3 separate regions of the Homo sapiens genome follow, and regions 1 and 2 are each linked to region 3. Evidence: promoter capture Hi-C in 16 types of primary human blood cells and fetal thymus (Javierre and others, 2016). All regions are on one chromosome and are shown on one strand. The core of a region is centred on a gene start or on the middle of the fragment in contact, and the rest is flanking DNA. Distances in the headings are between cores, read along the strand shown.

The links. Contacts are between HindIII fragments. The CHiCAGO score rates a contact against its expected background, and 5 or more counts as called.
Region 1: a fragment that was not itself captured here is called in contact with the fragment with the promoter of CD19 in region 3 in 1 of 17 cell types (total CD8 T cells); the score reaches 5.2 in total CD8 T cells.
Region 2: the fragment with the promoter of NUPR1 here is called in contact with the fragment with the promoter of CD19 in region 3 in 9 of 17 cell types (fetal thymus, erythroblasts, non-activated CD4 T cells and 6 more); the score reaches 8.7 in fetal thymus.

What each region holds. Positions count from the first base shown.
Region 1 is chr16:28,570,003-28,573,582 of GRCh38, forward strand. The region is part of intron 1 of SGF29 (SAGA complex associated factor 29); the gene reads left to right. Among named protein-coding and RNA genes, the nearest start is that of SGF29, 18 kb to the left of the region's middle. The HindIII fragment of the contact is 5,033 bases long and covers 1-3,580 here.
Region 2 is chr16:28,537,724-28,541,079 of GRCh38, forward strand. NUPR1 (nuclear protein 1, transcriptional regulator) reads right to left here and starts at 1,251. Exons shown (of 3, transcript NM_012385.3): 1 at 1,073-1,251; 2 at 283-432. The coding sequence starts at 1,184. The coding sequence ends at 296. RefSeq lists an enhancer at 45-1,244. The HindIII fragment of the contact is 7,417 bases long and covers 1-3,356 here.
Region 3 is chr16:28,930,484-28,933,924 of GRCh38, forward strand. CD19 (CD19 molecule) reads left to right here and starts at 1,488. Exons shown (of 15, transcript NM_001770.6): 1 at 1,488-1,605; 2 at 1,863-2,129; 3 at 2,428-2,631; 4 at 2,751-3,026. The coding sequence starts at 1,518. The HindIII fragment of the contact is 16,330 bases long and covers 1-3,441 here.

The DNA.
Region 1 (3,580 bases), core at 397-2,896, 360 kb before region 3:
AGCCTTGGGCCCAGGCAGAGAACTGACACAGGGTAAGGCCCCTGCAGAAAGTCCCCATTAGGGCATTGCCTAGCAGAGCTATGGGGGTAGGGTTGCCTCTGAGACCCCAGACTGGTAGAGCCACCAGTGTGCAACTCCAGCCTGGGAGAGCCACAGGCATGCAACTCCAACAAGTGAGGGCTGTTGCATGGGCTGTGCCCAGCAAACCTGTACAGGCAGGGCTGCCCAGAGCCCAGCAACATGTCCCTGCCAGTGTGTCCAGAAGGTAGGAGGACATAGAGTTGAAGAAGGTTGTTCAGAAACCTTGAGATTGAATGGGGTTTGCTCTGTTGGGTTTTGGACTTACCTGGGACCTATTACCCCTTTCTTCTTTGTTGTTTCTCTCTTTTAGAATGTCTGTCCTATGCCTGTCCCACCGTTGTATTTTACAAGCACATAACACGTTTGATTTCACAGGCTCACAGATGGTGGGGAATTTGCCCCAGGATGAATTGTACTTTGAGTCTCACCCATACCTGATTGATTGATTGATTTTTTTAAATTTTATTTATTTATTTATTTATTTATTTATTTATTTATTTATTTATTTAGCGAGAGAGTGAGCCTCACTCTGTCACCCAGGCTGGAGTGCACTGGTGGGATCTCGGCTCACTGCAACCTCTGCCTCCCAGGTTTAAGTGATTCTCCTGCCTCAGCTTCCTGAGTAGCTGAATTACAGGTGCCTGCCATCATGCCCAGCTAATTTTTGTATTTTTAGTAGAGACAGGGTTTCACCATGTTGGCCAGGCTGGTCTTGAACTCCTGACCTCAAGTGATTCGCCCACCTTGGTTTCCCAGAGTGTGGGATTACAGGCATGATACACCACACCCAGCCACCCATATCTGATTTAGATGATAGATGAGACTCTGGACTTTAGACTTTTGAGTTGATGCTAGAATGAGTTTCTATTTGGGGCCATTGGGGTGGACTGAATGTATTTTGCAAGTAAAAAGGACATGACTTTTGGGGGTTCAGGAGCCAAATGCTGTGGTCTGAGTGTTTGTGTTCCCCTAAAATTCATATGTTGAAACTTGATCCCCAACATGGTGGGGCCTTTGGGAAGTGATTAGGCTGTGAGGATTCCACTCTCAAGAATGGGGTTAGCGCCCTTATGAAAGAGGCCTGAGGGACTTGTGTTGCCCCTTCTGCCATGTTGAGAATGCAGTGAGAAGGCACCATCTTTGAAGCGGAGAGCGATGCCGAATCTACTGGGGCCTGGATCTTGTACTTTCCGGCCTTCAGAACTGTGAGCAATAAATTTCTGTTGTTGGCCAGGCATGGTGGCTCACGCCTGTAATCTCAGCACATTGGGAAGCCGAGGCAGGTGGATCACCTGAGGTCAGGAGTTCGAGACCAGCCTGGCCAACAAAGCAAAACCCCGTCTCTACTAAAAATACAAAATTAGCTGGGCGTGGTGGCAGACACCTGTAATCCCAGCTACTTGGGAGGTTGAGGCAGGAGAATCGCTTGAACCAGGGAGGTGGAAGTTTCAGTGAGCCAAGATCACGCCACTGCACTCCAGCCTGGCGACAGAACTAGACTCCGCCTTAAAAAAAAAAAAAAAAAAGATTCTGAATCTTTGGGAAGCCCTCTGGGCTGGGGATCGATTTGGGAGTCAGTACCATGTGGTTCATAGTTGACGCGGTAGCTTGCAGAAGCCAAGGAAAGCCTACGCTTTCAAAAAAAGTTTGGAAGAGTCAATGTAAGGAAATCCAAAGTGGACCTAACTGTGGAGATGGGGGTCAGGGAAGGAGAGAGCTGGGGTGTGAAGTAGTGAAAATTAGAAAAGTGCCTGCTAAGTCCCTGACGCTACTAATGAGTGGTGATTGATTGATGAAAGCAGAGATTTCCGTTCTTGCCTGAGAGCTTCTAGTCTGTTGGGGAAGAAAAGATACACCAATAGCAGCTGGCTAGAAGGCCAGTTTCTTCTTTTTTTATTTTTATTTTTATTTTTTGAGACGGAGTCTCGCACTGTTGCCCGGACTGGAGTGCAGTGGCACAATCTCGGCTCACTGCAAGCTCTGCCTCCCGGGTTCACGCCATTCTGCCTCAGCCTCCCGAGTAGCTGGGACCACAGGCACCCACCACCACGCCCGGCTAATTTTTAGTATTTTTAGTGGAGATGGGGTTTCACTGTGTTAGCCAGGATTGTCTCAATCTCCTGACCTTGTGATCCACCTGCCTCAGCCTCCCTAAGTGCTGGGATTACAGGCGTGAGCCACTGCGCCCGGCCCTTTTGTATTTTTCTTGAGACGGAGCTCTTGTTGCCCAGGCTGGAGTGCAGTGGCACGATCTCGGCTCACTGCAACATCCGCCTGCTGGGTTCAAGCAGCTCTCCTGCCTCAGCCTCCGAGTAGCTGGGATTACAGGCACCGGCCACCACGCCTGGCTAACTTTTGTATTTTCAGTAGATACAGGGTTTCACCATGTTGGCCAGGCTGGTCTCAAACTCCTGACCTCAGGTAATCCGCCTGCCTCGGCTTCCCAAAGTGCTGGTATTACAGGCGTGAGCCACTGCGCCCGGTAGAAGGCCAGTTTCTAAAGGCGTGTTGCAGAGTCCATGTCAGTTCTAGGAAGAATCAAGCAAGAGAAAAGTGTGCTTCTTTAGGACTGGTCAGGCAAGCGCAGCCTTGAGCCAGAAGGGAAAGGGCTTTGCAGGTAGGAGTGGGCAGGCAGCAAGATCGTGTGTCTGAGACAGTGTAGAGGGAACAGGCCAGAAGGAATGTCAGCTGAGCCGGGGAGGTGTCGCTGGGTATGATCCAGTGCTAGAGCCTGTCTCTCGCTGCGCCTGCCTCCTCTCACACAGCCCCCTCTTCTGTCCCTGGCTTCTCAGCATGAAACTCCCCCCAGCCACGTGTTCACATTCCTCCGTGTCACTTTCCTCCATTCAGCACCCCCCATACCCCTTCTTGCTCGCTGGCCTCCCAGCTGTACTCCCAGACAGAGTAACCTACATTTGCTTCCTGCATTTGCCTCCCCCTCCTGTGTGTTGGCTTCTGTCTCTTCCACGGAAAATGTTTTCCCCAAGGTCCTCAGTGACTTCCTCAGCTTTGGGAGACCCCTCTGAGTCCTCTTCTGTGGCATTTGGTGCTGTTTATCATCCCTTCTGTGACTTTCTTTTGACGGATGTACAGATTGGGAGATGGCACTACACAGCTGGGAAGTGGGGGTGAGGACCTGGGGGGGTGTAAGAGATAGCCAGGCTCCAGCCCAGAGGAGGAGCTGGAGGTGGGTGGCCGGCGAACTGCCAGGAGGGAGGCCCTGAAGCCAGAGGAGAAGGGAGTAGCATCATGTCAAGATCAGTAGGCCACATCGGAAGCAGCAGAGAGGGCCCTCACGCTTCCCCTGCAGGGGCTGTTGACTCTCTTGATGAGAGACTGATGAGGACAGAGCTAGAGAAGTGGGTTGGAAAGTGAAGTGGGGACAAGGAAGCAGCACCGGATCCCTGCACAATTTAGGGAAGAAGTTTTGCCGTGAAGAGGAACAGAGGTGGGGGCCTCTAAAGGGGTTTGGAAGCTCTTTTGTGTTTTTTCAGGATGA
Region 2 (3,356 bases), core at 1-2,500, 390 kb before region 3:
CTGCCTCTCCCACTCACTTGATTTGTGACTCCAGGGAAGGACCCACCCTCTCTATCCTCAATTTCTGTCTCTGTAAGTCAAATTTCCCTTCAATTGGAAAGGTTCTGTGTTCCCACTTTGCTCTGGCCACTAGGAAACTCACAATCAAACATATGTCTCGTTTTATTCTGCATCAAGACAACAGTTGCCTGATCCCTCCTCCCCACCCAATCACACACCTTCCGGCCTGTCCTTCATGGCAGAAGCACCACCTTGAGCTCTCTGGGCCCCCCGACTCCTTACCTCCAGCTCTGTCTCAGCGCCGTGCCCCTCGCTTCTTCCTCTCTGAATTCTGCAGCTTGGTCACCAGTTTCCTCTCGTGCCCGCCAGGGCTGGGGCGGTTGGTGTTGGCAGCAGCTTCTCTCTTGGTGCGACCTTTCCGGCCTCCACCTCCTGTAACCAAGGCAGGAGTCAGAGGTGAAGTGGGCATAGGCATGATGAGAGGCCCTGTCAGAGGAGAGGCAGGGGTTCAGGGTTGTGGGGATGGGAAGAGCAGGGAGAAGCCTGCTGCTTCCCCTCTGTGGAATGTGGGACCCCAGATGTGTGTGAGGTCCCAGGCTGAGTAACATAGCACTCCTGGGATAAGGGATTAGACAGGGGTGACGTGAGGGTCCAAGGAACAGGTTGGCTAGAAAAGGGTGAGTGGGCTGGGCAGGGTGGCTCACTCCTGTAATCTCAGCACTTTGGGAGGCCAAGGCAGGAGAATTGCTTGAGCCCAGGAATTTGGGATCAGCCTGGGAAACATAGTGAGACCCCATCTCACCACTGCAGGTGGTGTACACCTGAAGTTCCAGCCACTCAGGAGGCTGAAGCAGGAGGATCACTTGAGCCCAGGAGTTCGAGGCTGCGGTGAGTTGTTTGAGTTGTTGTGATCACACTACTGCACTCCAGCCTGGGTGACAGAGTGACTCTCTCAAAAAAAAAGAAAGAAAGAAACGAAGAGGAAAGGAAAGGAAATGAGAGGAAACAAGAGGGGTGGGTCCTGATTTCGGGAGAGGAGGAAGGACCGTGGAGATGGCTGAGTGGGCCTTACCGAGGTAGGAATGGGCCAGGCTATAGAGGTCAGATTCATCCAGGCTGGAGTCCTCGTCCTCCGGGCCTGGGGGCTGCTGGGGGGCGCTGGTTGCTGGTGGGAAGGTGGCCATCGTGCCTGGCTTGTCTTCCCTGCCTCTCTTCTTCTCCTAACGCTTTGTCTGTCTCTGCTTTCCTGGCCCCGGGCCTCTCCACTCCCTCAGCTTATAAGGCTGTGTCTCCTCCTCAGACCACAGTCTGGCTCCAGCCCATCAGGCCCTGTCTGATGCAATCTGGCCCCTTCCCAAAATCCAGCCCAGTAAACACAGTCATGAGACGGGAAGAGTCGGTCCCTGAGTCCAGCCCAACTCACCTCCTCCCTCCCAGGCTCACCCAGCTGGATATTTTCCATAGAGGAGGTCCCGCTTCTCGGCAGAAAGCAGGGAAGAGGCAGGATCTGGGCTAAAACACTCGTTGGGATCATGGCCTCACCTGATCGAGGGCTTCACCTGGGCCTGGGATGACGGCCACACAGCTAACCCCGGCACCCCAATTCTCGCTGAGATGCAGGACGTGAGGAAGGAGGGGGAAGGGATATCAGCACACTTGTGCCAGGGACAAGTCAGTGGCTTCCACCCAGTCACACTCAACATCTTGCTTGTCTTCTTTTTTTTTTTTGAAATGGAGTCTCTGTCGCCCGGCTGGAGTGCAGTGGTGTGATCTTGGCTCACTGCAACCTGCAACCTCCTCCTCCCAGGTTCAAGCAATTCTCCTGGCTCAGCCTCCCGAATAGCTGGGATTATAGACATCTGCCACCATGCCTGGCTAATTTTTGTATTTTTAGTAGAGATGGGGTTTCACCATGTTGGACAGGCTGATCTTGAACTCCTGACCTCAAGTCATCTGCCTGCCTCGGCCTCCCAAAGTGCTGGGATTACAGGCATGAGCCACACCCTTTTTTTTCTTTTTTCTATGAGAAACATCTTGGAAAACCCCTTAATATCCTGAAACAGGGTCCCCAGTAATGTAATCTCCCTCACCTAGGAGGAGGGTGGCAGAGGGTTGGAGAGTTCAGGGTCTGGAGCCAGTTGCCCTCAGTTCAATCCCCTGACCCACCACTTTCCGTGTGACCTTGGGCGAGTCCCTTCACCTCTCTGTGCCTTGGTTTCCAATTCTGTAAAATAAGGATGATAATAATTGTATCTTCTTCCTAGAGTTGGGGAGAGGATCAAATGAGATAATGTTTGAAAGACACATGCTACAGTGCCCGGTGACAGAGGGAGACCCTGTCTCAAAAACAAATTATAATAAAATAATATGTATTTCAAAATATGGATGTACTGAGGCAGAAGACACAATGAGGCCGAGCGTGGTGGCTTATGCCTGTAGTCCCAGCACTTTGGGAGATCCACAAAGTGGGTGGATCACCTGAGGTCAGGAGTTCAAGACCAGCCTGGCCAACATGGCGAAATCCCATCTCTACTAAAAATACAAAAATTAGCCTGGTGTGGTGGCAAGTGCCTGTAATCCCAGCTACTCAGGAGGCTGAGGCAGGAGAATCGCTTGAACCTGGGAGGGAGAGGTTGTGGTGAGCTGAGATCGAGCCACTGCACTCCAGCCTCAGCAACAGAATGAGACTGTGTCTGAAAACAAAAACAAAAACACAAAAAGCTGAACTTCTGCTTGTGTTTCTCCCTTGCCTGAGCCGGAATTGAATTTAGCCTTTGTTTTCCCAGATTTGGATGATGTATGAGTTCCTTAACACCCAGGAAATGAAAGTGAAGACAGGATACTTGAATGAAAACAGGATTGGGCCAATAATAACAGACCAGGTGATCAGAGAAAGAGGAAAATAATCTTAAATTAAGCAAAGATTGGCCTAGTGCGGTAGCTCATGCCTGTAATTCCAGGGCTCTGGGAGGGTAAGCTGGGAGGATTGCTTGAAGCTGGGAGTTCAAGGCCAGCTTGGGCAATAGAGCAAGACTCCATCCTTTTTTTGTTGGTTTGTTTGTTTTTGTTTTGAGACAGAGTCTCACTCTGTCACCAGGCTGGAGTGCAGTGGTATGATCTCGGCTCACTGCAACCTCCGCCTCCTGGGTTCAAGTGATTCTCCTGCCTCAGCCTCCTGAGTAGCTGGGATTACAGGCTTGTGCCACCACGCCCGGCTAATTTTTATATTTTTAGTAGAGACGGGGTTTCACCACGTTGGCCAGGCTGGTCTCGAACTCCTGACCTCAGGTGATCTGCCCGCCTCGGCCTCCCAAAGTGCTGGGATTACAGGCGTGAGCCACCTGGCCAGTATCTTT
Region 3 (3,441 bases), core at 238-2,737:
TTTATTTTAGCTAGATGAAAAGCAACTGACATTTTTTGTTTTTTAAAAAATTTCTATAGAGATGGGTTCTCGCTGTGTTGCACAGGCTGGTCTCAAATTCCTGTCCTCAAAGGATCCTCTCGCCTCGGCCTCCTAAAGTATTGGGATTACAGGCATGAGCCTCTGTGCCTGGCTGTAACTGACATGTTTTAAGCAGGGGAATGACATGCTCTAGTGAAAGCCAGTCTGGGCAGCTGGGTAGCTAATGAGGGGATTAGAGAGATTTTGTTGAATGAAAGGCAGATTGAGTCCTGCTACTCGCCCCCTTCATTCCCCTTCATTCATGCCTCATTCTTCCGCCTCCCAGCCGCCTCAACTGGCCAAAGGGAAGTGGAGGCCCTGCCACCTGTAGGGAGGGTCCCCTGGGGCTTGCCCACAGCAAACAGGAAGTCACAGCCTGGTGAGATGGGCCTGGGAATCAGCCACTGAGAAAGTGGGTCTCTTGGGTCCCTGAATTCTTTTTCTGAGTCCCTGCAGCAGTGAAAAAGACACAGAGGCACATAGAGAGTGACAGAGAAAGAGAGAGACAGAGAGGAGAGGCATGGGGCAGAATAAGAACAGATTTAGGAGTTAGAACTCCTGGGTTCTTTTAAAACAATTTTTCTTTTAGAGACAGGGTCTTGTTGTGTTGCCCGGACTGGAGCACAGTGGCTATTCCCAGGCATAATCATGGTGCACTGCAGCCTTGAACTCCTGGGCTCAAGCGATCCTTCTACCTCAGCCTCCCAAGGACCTGGGACCATAGGCGTGTACCACTGTGCCTGGCTTTTGCCTGGTTTTAAACTGAGGCAGTATGACTTGAGCTCTTAGGCATTAATTGAAGCTGTATCTCATTAACTGAGGGCTTATGATGTGCTGGACACTGGGCTAATAGTGCTGAACATATTGTCATTTTTAATCTTCACAAACAATATTTGTATAGGACTGTTTTCTTTTCTTTTTTTTTTTTGAAACAGAGTCTCACTCTGGTGCCCAGGCTGGAGTGCAGTGGTGTGATCTCGGCTCACTGCAACCTCCGCCTCCTGGTTTCCAGTGATTCTCCTGCCTCAGCCTCCTAAGTAGCTGGGATTACAGGTGTGCGCCACCATGCCCGGCTAATTTTTTTTTTTTTTTTTGAGAAGGAGTCTATGTGCCCAGCATTGTTCTAGAGCACTTGCAATTAGTGGTGAACAACACGGTCTCTACTCCAAGGGGCTCACATTCTTGTGCAGAAAACAGAAATGAACAAATAAACACACAAGATCATTTCCCGTGGTAGTGAGAGCTGGGATGAAAATAAAACAGCGTGGCAGGGAGGAGGCAAGTGTTGTGAGTCTGGAGGGTTCCTGGAGAATGGGGCCTGAGGCGTGACCACCGCCTTCCTCTCTGGGGGGACTGCCTGCCGCCCCCGCAGACACCCATGGTTGAGTGCCCTCCAGGCCCCTGCCTGCCCCAGCATCCCCTGCGCGAAGCTGGGTGCCCCGGAGAGTCTGACCACCATGCCACCTCCTCGCCTCCTCTTCTTCCTCCTCTTCCTCACCCCCATGGAAGTCAGGCCCGAGGAACCTCTAGTGGTGAAGGTGGAAGGTATGTCCAAAGGGCAGAAAGGGAAGGGATTGAGGCTGGAAACTTGAGTTGTGGCTGGGTGTCCTTGGCTGAGTAACTTACCCTCTCTGAGCCTCCATTTTCTTATTTGTAAAATTCAGGAAAGGGTTGGAAGGACTCTGCCGGCTCCTCCACTCCCAGCTTTTGGAGTCCTCTGCTCTATAACCTGGTGTGAGGAGTCGGGGGGCTTGGAGGTCCCCCCCACCCATGCCCACACCTCTCTCCCTCTCTCTCCACAGAGGGAGATAACGCTGTGCTGCAGTGCCTCAAGGGGACCTCAGATGGCCCCACTCAGCAGCTGACCTGGTCTCGGGAGTCCCCGCTTAAACCCTTCTTAAAACTCAGCCTGGGGCTGCCAGGCCTGGGAATCCACATGAGGCCCCTGGCCATCTGGCTTTTCATCTTCAACGTCTCTCAACAGATGGGGGGCTTCTACCTGTGCCAGCCGGGGCCCCCCTCTGAGAAGGCCTGGCAGCCTGGCTGGACAGTCAATGTGGAGGGCAGCGGTGAGGGCCGGGCTGGGGCAGGGGCAGGAGGAGAGAAGGGAGGCCACCATGGACAGAAGAGGTCCGCGGCCACAATGGAGCTGGAGAGAGGGGCTGGAGGGATTGAGGGCGAAACTCGGAGCTAGGTGGGCAGACTCCTGGGGCTTCGTGGCTTCAGTATGAGCTGCTTCCTGTCCCTCTACCTCTCACTGTCTTCTCTCTCTCTGCGGGTCTTTGTCTCTATTTATCTCTGTCTTTGAGTCTCTATCTCTCTCCCTCTCCTGGGTGTCTCTGCATTTGGTTCTGGGTCTCTTCCCAGGGGAGCTGTTCCGGTGGAATGTTTCGGACCTAGGTGGCCTGGGCTGTGGCCTGAAGAACAGGTCCTCAGAGGGCCCCAGCTCCCCTTCCGGGAAGCTCATGAGCCCCAAGCTGTATGTGTGGGCCAAAGACCGCCCTGAGATCTGGGAGGGAGAGCCTCCGTGTCTCCCACCGAGGGACAGCCTGAACCAGAGCCTCAGCCAGGGTATGGTGATGACTGGGGAGATGCCGGGAAGCGGGGGTCCAGAGACAGAGGGGAGGGGAAACTGAAGAGGTGAAACCCTGAGGATCAGGCTTTCCTTGTCTTATCTCTCCCTGTCCCAGACCTCACCATGGCCCCTGGCTCCACACTCTGGCTGTCCTGTGGGGTACCCCCTGACTCTGTGTCCAGGGGCCCCCTCTCCTGGACCCATGTGCACCCCAAGGGGCCTAAGTCATTGCTGAGCCTAGAGCTGAAGGACGATCGCCCGGCCAGAGATATGTGGGTAATGGAGACGGGTCTGTTGTTGCCCCGGGCCACAGCTCAAGACGCTGGAAAGTATTATTGTCACCGTGGCAACCTGACCATGTCATTCCACCTGGAGATCACTGCTCGGCCAGGTAGAGTTTCTCTCAACTGGGAGGCATCTGTGTGGGGGTACTGGGAAGAAGTGGAAGCCAGTCAATCTTAGATTCCCCCAACCCGAGGGCTACTCCCAGCCTCACCCCAAACCCCAACTTCCACACAGAACACTGACTCCAAGTCTTTCTTTTTTTTGACAGAGTCTCGCTCTGTTGCCTAGGCTGGAGTGCAGTGGTGCCATCTTGTCTTGGCTCACTGCAACCTCCGCCTCCCAGGTTCAAGTGATTCCCCTGCCTCAGCCTCCTGAGTAGCTGGGATTACAGGTGCCCACCACCACGCCTGGCTAATTTTTTTTTTTTTTTTGAGACGGAGTCTTGCACTGTCACCCAGGCTGGAGTGCAGTGGCACGATCTCAGCTCACTGCAACCTCCACCTTCCAGGTTCAAGTGATTC